Linked DNA regions of Homo sapiens: region 1 is linked to region 2. The links are contacts of gene promoters, found by promoter capture Hi-C in blood cells and fetal thymus (Javierre and others, 2016). All regions are on one chromosome and are shown on one strand. The core of a region is centred on a gene start or on the middle of the fragment in contact, and the rest is flanking DNA. Distances in the headings are between cores, read along the strand shown.

Region 1 (4,950 bases), core at 481-2,980, 810 kb after region 2:
GCTGCAGAACCTGCTTCCGATGTGGAGCATGCAATTTGCCTATAGCTCTTCTCTCCGCACCACATACATAAATCCAACTGCAGCCCAAGACCCCAGGATGAAGGTGTCTTCCATTTCTACCTCCCTTTTATCAACCACCCTGGAGTCACTGCCTGACAAATGACTCAAAACTGAAATAGCTGCCAGGCCGGAAAAAGACTGACTACGTCAACCTTCACAGGCACAGCTTGTGGACCCAAGAGCCTCCGGTCTTGGGACACCAAATGGACCCTGAGGTGGGGTAGACTTTGTGTCCTACTCTTCCCCAGACCCCCACGCAAGCCTTCACCAACATGCCAGGAATCCTCACAGCTCAGATCAGCACACTGAGCATCAGTTCCTCCTATGAATGGGGAGACTGGGACCCAGGGTCCCAGAGGGCTTGGCCCCATAACGGTCACTGGAATCTGGTCCAGGATACAGACCGTGGAATCCTGCCTCCTCTCCTGGTGCTACTGCTAACTTCCTTCCCTTCCTCTCTCTATTGGGCCGATAGAGTGGAACCAAATGGTCCAGACACCTGGCATTCTCTGCCCTGACTACCGAGGAGAGTCAAAGTCCAGCCCGCCTTCCCCAAGGTCAAATTCACCGGGATCCAGCAGGACCCAAGAGCGTCCAGATTAAATCTGCAGGGGCCTGGGTCCGCCCCCTCACCCACAGTTCGTTGGGTCAGGCCTCTAGAGAGATGTTTCTTTGTTCAAAGACAATGGGAATGCACTTTGGGGGCTTAGAGCAGCAACACAAAAAAAGTATCTGGTATCTCCCGGGCACAATCCCCCAAGAGAAAAGCTTCTAAAGCAACTACGAAAGAGACAGGGGGAGTGGGGGCGTAACATCGCGCGGTGTGTCTCGGAGCCAGGGCAAGTGTGGTAATTAGAGTCAGGCTAGAGGGCTTGCTCTGGACCTGCCAGTCTGGCCGCCACCCAGGTGGACAGGTGGGTGTGCCTTTGAGTGCGACCTTTCTCTGCCGCTGGACAGTTCTGCAAACCGAAACGAGGGACCCTGGCAGGCGGAACGTGAACGGCTCGGGGCTCCGCGGCCAGGCCCGCGCAAACCCTCCCCTTGTGAACCCCGGGCCCTCGCTCTGCGCCAGGCAGGCAGCCATCCGGCCTGGGCGTCCAAGGCGCGGGGCATCGCCGCTCGCGTCCTCAAAGACAAGCAGTCTCTCTTTCCAGGATCAATAGTAATTTTTTAAAAAAAAGAGTCTGCGGACTCAATGAATCAACCACTCCCTGGGGAAAGAGTAGCGGCTCCCGCGCGCAACATCCATTTGCCAAACAATTCATTCCCTCGCGCAGAGCTCTCGGCGAATTCCCTCGCGGAGCCGCGGGGTGCCGGCCGGCCGCCGCTCCCCACCATTGTCCCAGGGCCCCGGCCCCAGCCGCGGGGCCCCCTCCCGGGACACGTAGTCCCGCGGGGGCTCCGAGCGCTTGGTCCCGGCCCGGCCCGGGGTGGTGAGTCCCCAGCGCAGGGAGCGGGGGCGCGGGTGCTGCGGCCAGAGCACGGCGTCCCCGCCCGGCCTGGATACTCACTGCCGGAGACGATCCCCGCCGCCGCCGCCGCCTCAGAGACCACTCCCGGCAGCCCGCGCGAGCTCAACAGGCTCCGCCGCGGCTCCCGTCGGCCGGCTCTCCACAGGCAAAAACGCTCTCGCTGCGATACAGCCTAGGCGCCGCCAACAAACTAGTTTCTCCGGCCTTCCCGCCCCGCCTCCCGGCCCGAAGAGCAGCAGCCAATCAGAGGCATCGCCTCTGTGACGGATGGGCAGCCGAACCCTTCAGTGCAGCCGCAGAAAAGAAGGGGGTGGGCCCCAGGCCGCGCCGGCACCGGGGGGTGGGGGGCCGGGGGCGGGGAGGGGGGGGGACCGGGGGCGGGGCGGGGCGAGGAAAAGGACTTCGACCAGATTCTTAAAGAGACAGGCGCCTGCCCAACCCCGCCGCCCAAGTTTGGGAACAAAACGCGACGGTGTTCTAGAGCTTTCCAGAGGGAGCACTGTAGATTGCATATGCCTCTTTTGTGTTCGGGTCACAAGTGTTGTAGATCTCTTTAGACTCTTCAGAGCCACACTAGTAGTTGCCCGAGTGTTAATGAAACCCTGTCTTTCACTCTGGGCTTGTTTGAATGTTTGGGACTTTCTGCAGCCTCCAAACCCCACCTGTACTTGAAATCTGTATTTTTTGGAGTATTTCAGCTCTCCTCTCTGTGTCATTTCTCACTAAACTCCTTTCGTAAGCCAGCCTTTAAATGTTCGTTCATTCATTCATTCATCCATCCATCCAATAATTTCTTCCAGGAACGTTTCCTGGACGCCCACACCATGCACTCATCTTGGAGGGGGAGAACGGTTTGTGATTCTTCGTCCTTTTCCCTCCTGACTACTACTTCAGCTTACTGTGTGTGTCCAATCTCATCCGTAAAGCGGCAGATAAAAACTCCTCATCGGATTATTTGGGGGATTAAAGGAGACAAATTCCCAGACAAATGAGTGCGCAATAAATGTCCTCTCTTTTCTCCCTCCCAATGAAAATCGATAATTCAAGTAGGTTGCTTAAGGATACAAAAGGTAAAGCATAGAAAGTGATAAGAACGAAAGAGCCAAGCCTGGGGCGGGGAAATTCCCAGGAAGCAGAGGTCACCCTGACGGAGGTGGAGGTGGGAGGTGCAAGGAAGGTCTAAGAAAGTGTACAAAGATTTGGGAGAGGGGATAGGATTGTGACTAGTGGAACCTGGGAAATAGAGCCCCTGGGTAGAAAGCTGCTTAGACAGGACAGATATGCCAGGGTTAAAAGACTGGGAGATGATGAGAAGATACCACCAGGGAAGGCATTTTTGGGAAACAGCTTGATGTTCTGGGTTTGAAGCCCCGCCCTGCCCCTCAAGAGCTGGGTAGGACTGAAGCAGATGGCTCAGACTCTCTGGTGTCTGGTTCTTACTGGTGAAGAGGATTCTAAAACCTTTCTTGCAGGGGTATGGGAAAGATTAAGATAACATATGGAATAGGCCTGGCATGTAGTAAGTGCTCAGTACAGATTTGTGCTTCCATTTGGCCCAGATCTGCAGACATCTAAGGCACCAGGGTTCTGATATTTATGAACAATATTGGCCAGAGGTAAGAAGCTTGCCAAGTGCACTGTTAAGGTGCCTTCTGAAGAGAAAAGGTAGTGAGAGGTGAAGCCAGCTGGACTTTCTGGGTCCAGTGGGGACTTGGAGAACTTTTCTGTCTTACAAGAGGATTGTAAAATGCACCAATCAGCGCTCTGTATCTAGCTAGAGGTTTGTAAAATGTACCAATTAGTGCTCTGTAGAAATGCACCAATCAGCACTCTGTGGCTAGCTAGAGGTTTGTAAAACGGACCAATCAGCACTCTGTAAAATGGACCAATCAGCAGCACATGGGCCTGGACAAATAAGCTAATAAAAGCTGGCCGCCCCCCAGCCAGGAGCAGCAACCCACTTGGGTCCCCTTTGGCGCTGTGGGGGCTTTGTTCTTTCGCTCTCCACGGTAAATTTTTCTGCTGCTCACTCTTTGGGTTCACGCCACCTCTAAGAGCTGTAACACTCACCGTGAAGGTCCGCAGCTTCATTCCTGAAGTCAGCGAGACCACCAACCCACCGGAAGGAACCAGCTCCAACACATTAGCATCAAAGTAATTACTTCATTAAGGAAATGACAGAGATCACATTTGTAGTTTTATCCTGCCGATTTTCTAGCACTAGAGTGTTTATAGAATTGTTGGTTGAATGAAGCTCCACATGCAAAATTGATTCTTGGCAAGTTTATAACTGTTGCTTATTATTTTATGCAGGTTCGCTGTAAAATTATAAGTGCCAACCGCCCAGTAAAATCTGGTCCACATTATAATTTTTTCTCTCTTCAACTCCAAGGCTTAAATTAGGTACTAGAATATATTAAAATCAAATACAGTGTAAGCAATGGGACAAAATCAGACTAAGAACACGTGTGGAGTTAATCGAATTTAGGTACGATTTGAAAGAAGATGAGAGGAAGAGCGGAAGTTTGCCTTGCCATCTATTGCGGACCCTGGAGCATTACCGTCAACGCAGCCCTTACCAGCCAGTGTTGTAATGGCCTGCTTAGCTAGTCCACCTGCTGTGCAGGGAGCTCTGGGAGGGCAGGGACCATGAATTCATCTCAGAACTCTTAGGGCTGCATCAAAGTTGTCTACACAGTTTTGAAATACTGTGAATAAATCTCATATCCGTTAGAATTAGTTTTTACTGCATATGACAGAAAACCCAAAATTAACTGTGACTGAAACAAGATAGAAGTTTCTTGCTTATGCAAAATAAAGCTAAAGTTAAGCTATCCTTTGTTGGCAACTCCACAGTTGTCAGAAACACGGGCTACTGTATTTTTATTCCTTCATCTGTAATGCTTGGTTCCCATTTGCAAGGTTGCCCCATAGTCCAAGATGGCTGCTAGGGCTCCAACTCTGACACCTATATCCCAGACAGTAGGAAGGAATAATGGCGGAAGAGCATGAGATGTGTGTCTTCCAGCCTGGTTAGCTCTATTTATGCAGACTGCAGAAGTCCCACACAACACTTTTGTTTATGGACAGAATTTAGTTTTCCTACCTGCAAGAGCAGCTGGGAAATGTAGACTTTTATGTTAGTACATCACCTCCTCAAAGTCAGGGTTCTGTTAACAAGGAAGAGGGAATAGATGCCTGTTGTCCACCAACAATCCTTACCAATACCTTCCTCCCAGCATTGCCATCTAGCTAGTATTCCTGGTGGCCCAGAATCTGAAGTCTCAGAAATTCTGGGATGATGTATAGAATTCAATATATGTTCGTTAATAGATGATCAAATTCTTGGTTCTTTTTTTTTTTTAAAGATGGGGTTTCACTCTTGTTGCCCGGGCTGGAGTGCAATGGCGCAATCTCA
Region 2 (5,318 bases), core at 1-2,500:
CAGCCCGCTACAGGATACGTGATGGACGCCCAGAGACACCGCCCTCCAGCTGGTGGGGGAGGAGCCCCAGCCACCAAGAAGTTAAGTGACTGGCCCAGTTCACACAGCAAGCTAGTGGCTGTGTGCGTGTCCGGGGTCCTCATGGGCCCCAGGCCTGCAATGCGTACGCCCCTTCCCCTGGCTCTGCCTTTGGGGTCTCGGACGCCCGACTAGCACTTTGGTTAAAATGAGAGGAGGACGGGCGCCTGCAGCCTGCCCGGTGCTGTAGCTTTGCGGCCGCCCCGGCGCCTGTGTAATCCGAGGCGTGGCGCGCCAGGTTTTGGCCTGCGAGGGAGCGCACGTGGGCTGCGGCTTCTCGCGGACGCCCAGGCCCCACCCACCCGGGACCCGGCGCGCGGCGCCCCAGTTTGACTTTCACTACCCCCAAAGGAGGTCTTTCCACCGGCCTCTTTTCTGGGTAACAGCTCCAGGGCTCACACTTGGTGACCCCACCGAGGTCAAGTAGCCGCTAAGTTACGGAGCCGGAATTCGAATTTGGCGGTCGGGCTTCTGGTGGCCTCGGGACGGAGGTGGCTGTGTGTCCCTGGGCAAGTCTCTTTCCTTCTCTGGGTAGCCCAGTCGGGCGCCCCGCCTGTCGTCGCCGCGCATGCTCAGTTGCGGGCGGCGTCCGGAGGAGGTGGCGGGCGCCCCAGCTGCTTTGCATTGACGCCAGCACCCGCTGGAGGTCACCGCTGGGGGCTCGGCGCGGCACGCTGCCGGCAAAACCCGGCCCGGATCACGGAGCCGGAGCCGGAGCCGTACCGCCAGCAACTCCTGGGTGCGCGCAGCCGTTTCTGCGCTTCTCGACGGTGCGGCCCCAGGCCCCGCTGGAGCCGAGCTGCTCCCCTCCCTACCCTGGCGGACGTGGCCCGGCCGCTCCGAGGGGTTTCCCTCGGACCCCGCGCCTAAACCCCGGCCAGCGGGAGCGTCTAAGGCTAGCCTTGTACCCCACCGGCACTCGGCCTGGGGGGGCTTTTCCGCGAGGCGGCGGCCCAGCGGGCGGAGCGGCGTGGGTGTCCACATCTAGGCGGAGTCTGGAGCCGGGGAGGCGGCGGCGGCGGCGGCGGGAGCGGGGCCGGGCGCGGCCGGGAGCTCGCCTCCCCCGGGGGTCGTGCCGCAGCTCGGCGAGGGCAGCGTGGCTCGCGCGGCGTGGACTCAGCCGCTCCTGGGTAAGGAGAGCGCAAATCTCCTCCCCCTATTTCCCCGGAAGCGCGGCCGAGGCGAGCCCGGCGATGTGAGAGGCGGCCGTCGGCTCCTGCCTCAGGAAGGGCATGTTCGGAGGGGCGGCCTCGGCACGCCACCCGCCTAAGCGCCCCCTTCCCACCGCAGCCGCCGCCGCCGCAGCGCCCGCACCGCGATAAAAGGGGCGGCCGCGTTTCCTGACGCGAGATCCGCGCTCGCCGCCGCCCGCCCAGGCGGCGATGACACGGCGCCCGCGGCGGCCCGGAGGCGCCGGGTGGGCCGTTTGCTGACCGGATCGCGGCTACCCGCCAGCGTGTCCGCGGCGCCGCCGCCAGCATGGGCTGTGCCCCGAGCATCCACATTTCCGAGCGCCTGGTGGCCGAGGACGCGCCTAGCCCCGCGGCACCGCCGCTGTCGTCCGGCGGGCCGCGCCTCCCGCAGGGCCAGAAGACGGCCGCCTTGCCCCGGACCCGCGGCGCCGGCCTCTTGGAGTCGGAGCTTCGCGACGGCAGCGGCAAGAAGGTAAGGGGCGCCGGGCACTCTGGGGCCGCCGCGAAACTCGGGCCCGGCCAGTAAGCAACTTTCCCGCAGGGGCCGGGCGGGGTCCCCCCCACCCGGCCTCGGTGCCCTCTTGTCCCGCTTTGGATGGTTCTGATTGACGCCAGTCTCCCGCCTTGCCGGGGCAGCGTTCAGAGAAGGACCGACCCAGGTCCCGCGACCCTGATTTCCTAGGGTTGCGATTAGGACGCCGCCTGTGTCGCGGCGTCGGTTTTTTGGACACATCCGACTCCCGGAGCGGCGGGGCCCGATGTGAAGTTGACTGAGGCGCTTGCATCAATTTCCTCTCCAAGAGCGGGTGTTTGAGGGAAACCCCCAGGATATTCTGGCGCGCCCCTGCAATGTTAAATCAGTGTGAACTTTGTTCTTTTCCTGTGGTAGAAAGGGAAGGGCGACTGGCCTCACCACTCTTTTCCCTCTGTCAGCTTTGCACATGCAGTTGCAGGTTACCATTTTCTTCGGGACTGCTAGAATGTAATCTGGAACATCAGCTTTGCTTCATTGCACATGTATTTGAGGTCCACGTTTATTAGCATACATACTGTATTTAAAGCATATGTAATTAGAAAATACTGTGAAACGCGATTTTTGAAGCATTCAGCAGAACAAAGTTAATCTTTTATTAAGCCGACTTACTGGGACATTTTGTGACTGGGGTTTTTTGTTTTTTTACATTGCGTGTCTTCTCCAGCGCATGTTGCCTTGGCTTATGTTTTGTCAAAGTTTCTGGGCTTAGTCTTTGTTGAGGTTTTCTAAAGGAAAGTTAAAAAGGAAAAAGAAAAACGTGATCATTAAGGCACACAGCAGCAGCTTTCCAGTTCTCTCATTTCAGAATTTAAAGCTGGAACTCATGCGTTGGTTTATGTTTTGTTAAACCAGTAAAAGACAACAACAACAAAATTCGTGCATGGCTGCAGATTGTTGGCTGTCATCCCTCTCATCACGACCAGTTTTTGAAAGAGTAATTTGCAAAATTTGTTTGATTTTTCCTTGCTTGCTGAGAACTGCTGAACCTCCGAAGTTTGAGGGATATAGTTTGATGTACTTTCTGTCTTACATTTCTAGCAGTCGTCATGATACTTTTTCTGTACGAAAGGGGAAAGTCTTTTTCAGTGTTGCATAACAGTTGATTTCCCCACCATTCCCATACCCTAAGTGAAAATTCAACTTTGTTCTGATTATCAGAAATTGAATTCCTTCTCCTATAGATTCTTTAAAGAAACCTCTGATGGTTTAGGCTTACTAACTCAAGGTGCTCTTAATATCAGTGTTAAGCTGTGTGTTAAGCCTACTTGGCTTTAAAAAAGTGTTACACAGGTGCATATGGAAACTTTAACAGCTTTCAAGTTTTCAGTCCAAATCTAACATTTTGCAGACTAATGTGATAATTTCAGATTACCAAAGTAGCCCTTTTATAGTGAGGGGCCTTTGTGTCTTACAGGCTTTTTTTGTGGTGGATTGGGTGTCCTAAAATTCACCTAGGTGTCTTGTAAGCCTCCCCAGTGCAGCAGCAGCTTGCTCTTGTGCTATCGCAGTGCCGTTAGGTCCCTGAGTTTTTAAGTACTTACTTCAACCATTCTTCTGTATTGGCAGACCATTGTCTTGTGTTGGGGGCTCAGAAAATACTTTCATCCTTAAAGTGCCTAACCCAGTGGCATACACATAGTAGGTACTAAATAAATGTTTACTGATTTCTTAAAAAATTGTTAACTGATTGATGAAACTTTTTCAGTCATTGGAATTTGATTTCATAAAGCCTCCTATGTAGACTTCAAAATAATAGTATTTCCAGAGCAGGAGTCAAATTATAAATTATAACACCACAACCACAGAAATAATAGCCCCATACTTGTTATTCATGAACTGTACATGTTGATATCTCATTTACAGTTATTTGCATTTAGGCATGTCAGATAGTAGAGCAGAGGTAAATGTCAGCATTTTTTCTAGTCTAATATTTTTTCTTTGAAAATGAATCTTTTTAAATTTTAAGATATTAACTATGCTCTGGAAATTCATGTTAGAGAAGGCAAACTGCTAGCAATTTAGCAAAATTAAATCATAAAATTAGTTTCTTTGTATTATCTCAAGATGCAATTTAATTCATTACAAAATTTCTTATTAAAACTGTAAGTCAGCATATCTTTAAGTGAATTTCAACAAGAAATTCATTGGGGGATGCTTTTATAGTCCTACAGCATTTAGTAAATACCAGTTTATCAGTGTGGGTGGGAGATTGATAACTAATTGCATTTTTAGGTTAAGCAGTATGTACTTTGCGTTAAAGTGTATCCTGCATGTGTTCTATGGAACAATATGTGGACTGTTAGTATTGTATGAGAAAAGAGTTCCGTGGTCTGGTAAGTTTTTGGGAAATACAGGTTGAATATCCCTAATCAGAAAATGAGAAATGTTCCAAAGTCTGTTTTGAGTGCTGACATGATGCTCAAAGGAAGTGCTCAATGGAGCATTTCAGAGTTTGGATTTTCAGATTAGGGATGCTGAACTGGTAAATATAATGCAGATATTCCAAAAGCCAAAAAAAAAAAATCCAAAACACTTCTGGTCTCAAGCATTTGGGATAAGAGATATGCGGCCTATACTGGCTCAGACTAAGTTCAACAGAGTTCTTTTATGTAGGGCTTGTCAGAGAACCTAATTTCTGAAAGTAATCTGTGAGTCTCCAAGTGGTTTTTAGAGTGTGCATCATTTCCTAAACTAGTTGATTGTGGAGCCCTTTTCTTGAGGTGTATGTCAGGCAGGCCACATGTTAAGACCTGATTCTTTATGTGAGATACCAATATTCAAAGTACAAGAAATATAATTAACAGTAAAACTCAACGAATGTAATTTGCTTCTTAATGATTCCAAAGGTACTTTAGATCTTGCAATATATTAGGCTGGGTTGTCTGTATGAACTTATTTAAGTATTACTAAAAATACCCTCTGTCTGTTTATTCCTTTCGGGAGTTTAAGTTTATGTGGTTACAGATAATGAATGCTGTGTTCAGTTTGAACACTTAGAGTTTTGTTTATTTTTAATCAGTGTGAGTGAGCCTTAACTGTAACATTTTAATATTTTCTTGCCAGTCTTTGGATTTACCCCATTTCCACTTTCCCTAGCCAGGACTTGAGTTGCCCTTGAAAGATTTGCATGTAGTGTTAGAGACCCTATGCTCACCCCCTATCTTCCTTTTTGCAAACACCCACTGCACTGCTAATGATTGATGCTCCCCACACCCCAACTAATCAACTCTGTGAGATGGCAGTCATGTTTGTTTTGTTCACTGCTGTATCCCCCAGGCCTGATGCACAGTAGGCCTTCCGTAAACGTATGTTGAATTAGAGAATTTTGTGAACCAGGCTGTCAAGTTGAAAATCCACCCAGGCCAGGTAAGTAGAAATAGAAGCCAGTTTTAACCAGAGTAGAGGCTGTAAAGTTTGGATTTGGTTTTGTGGAAATCTCTGGTTATTGCTCTTCAGAGCACTGTACCCAGGGAATAATATATTTCTACCCTGTTGAGCAGAGTAGATTTCCC

Evidence for each region. Contacts are between HindIII fragments. The CHiCAGO score rates a contact against its expected background, and 5 or more counts as called.
Region 1: a contact is called between the fragment with the promoter of KLHL25 here and the fragment with the promoter of PDE8A in region 2, in 1 of 17 cell types (fetal thymus). The highest score is 8.8, in fetal thymus.

The regions. Positions count from the first base shown.
Region 1 is chr15:85,793,195-85,798,144 of GRCh38, forward strand. KLHL25 (kelch like family member 25) reads right to left here and starts at 1,731. Exons shown (of 3, transcript NM_022480.4): 1 at 1,572-1,731. RefSeq lists silencers at 1,402-1,701, 1,852-1,921. The HindIII fragment of the contact is 2,328 bases long and covers 827-3,154 here.
Region 2 is chr15:84,980,606-84,985,923 of GRCh38, forward strand. It overlaps PDE8A (phosphodiesterase 8A), which reads left to right and starts at 1,251. Exons shown (of 22, transcript NM_002605.3): 1 at 1,251-1,743. The coding sequence starts at 1,558. RefSeq lists silencers at 313-362, 683-1,172 and an enhancer at 900-1,432. The HindIII fragment of the contact is 13,609 bases long and covers 1-5,318 here.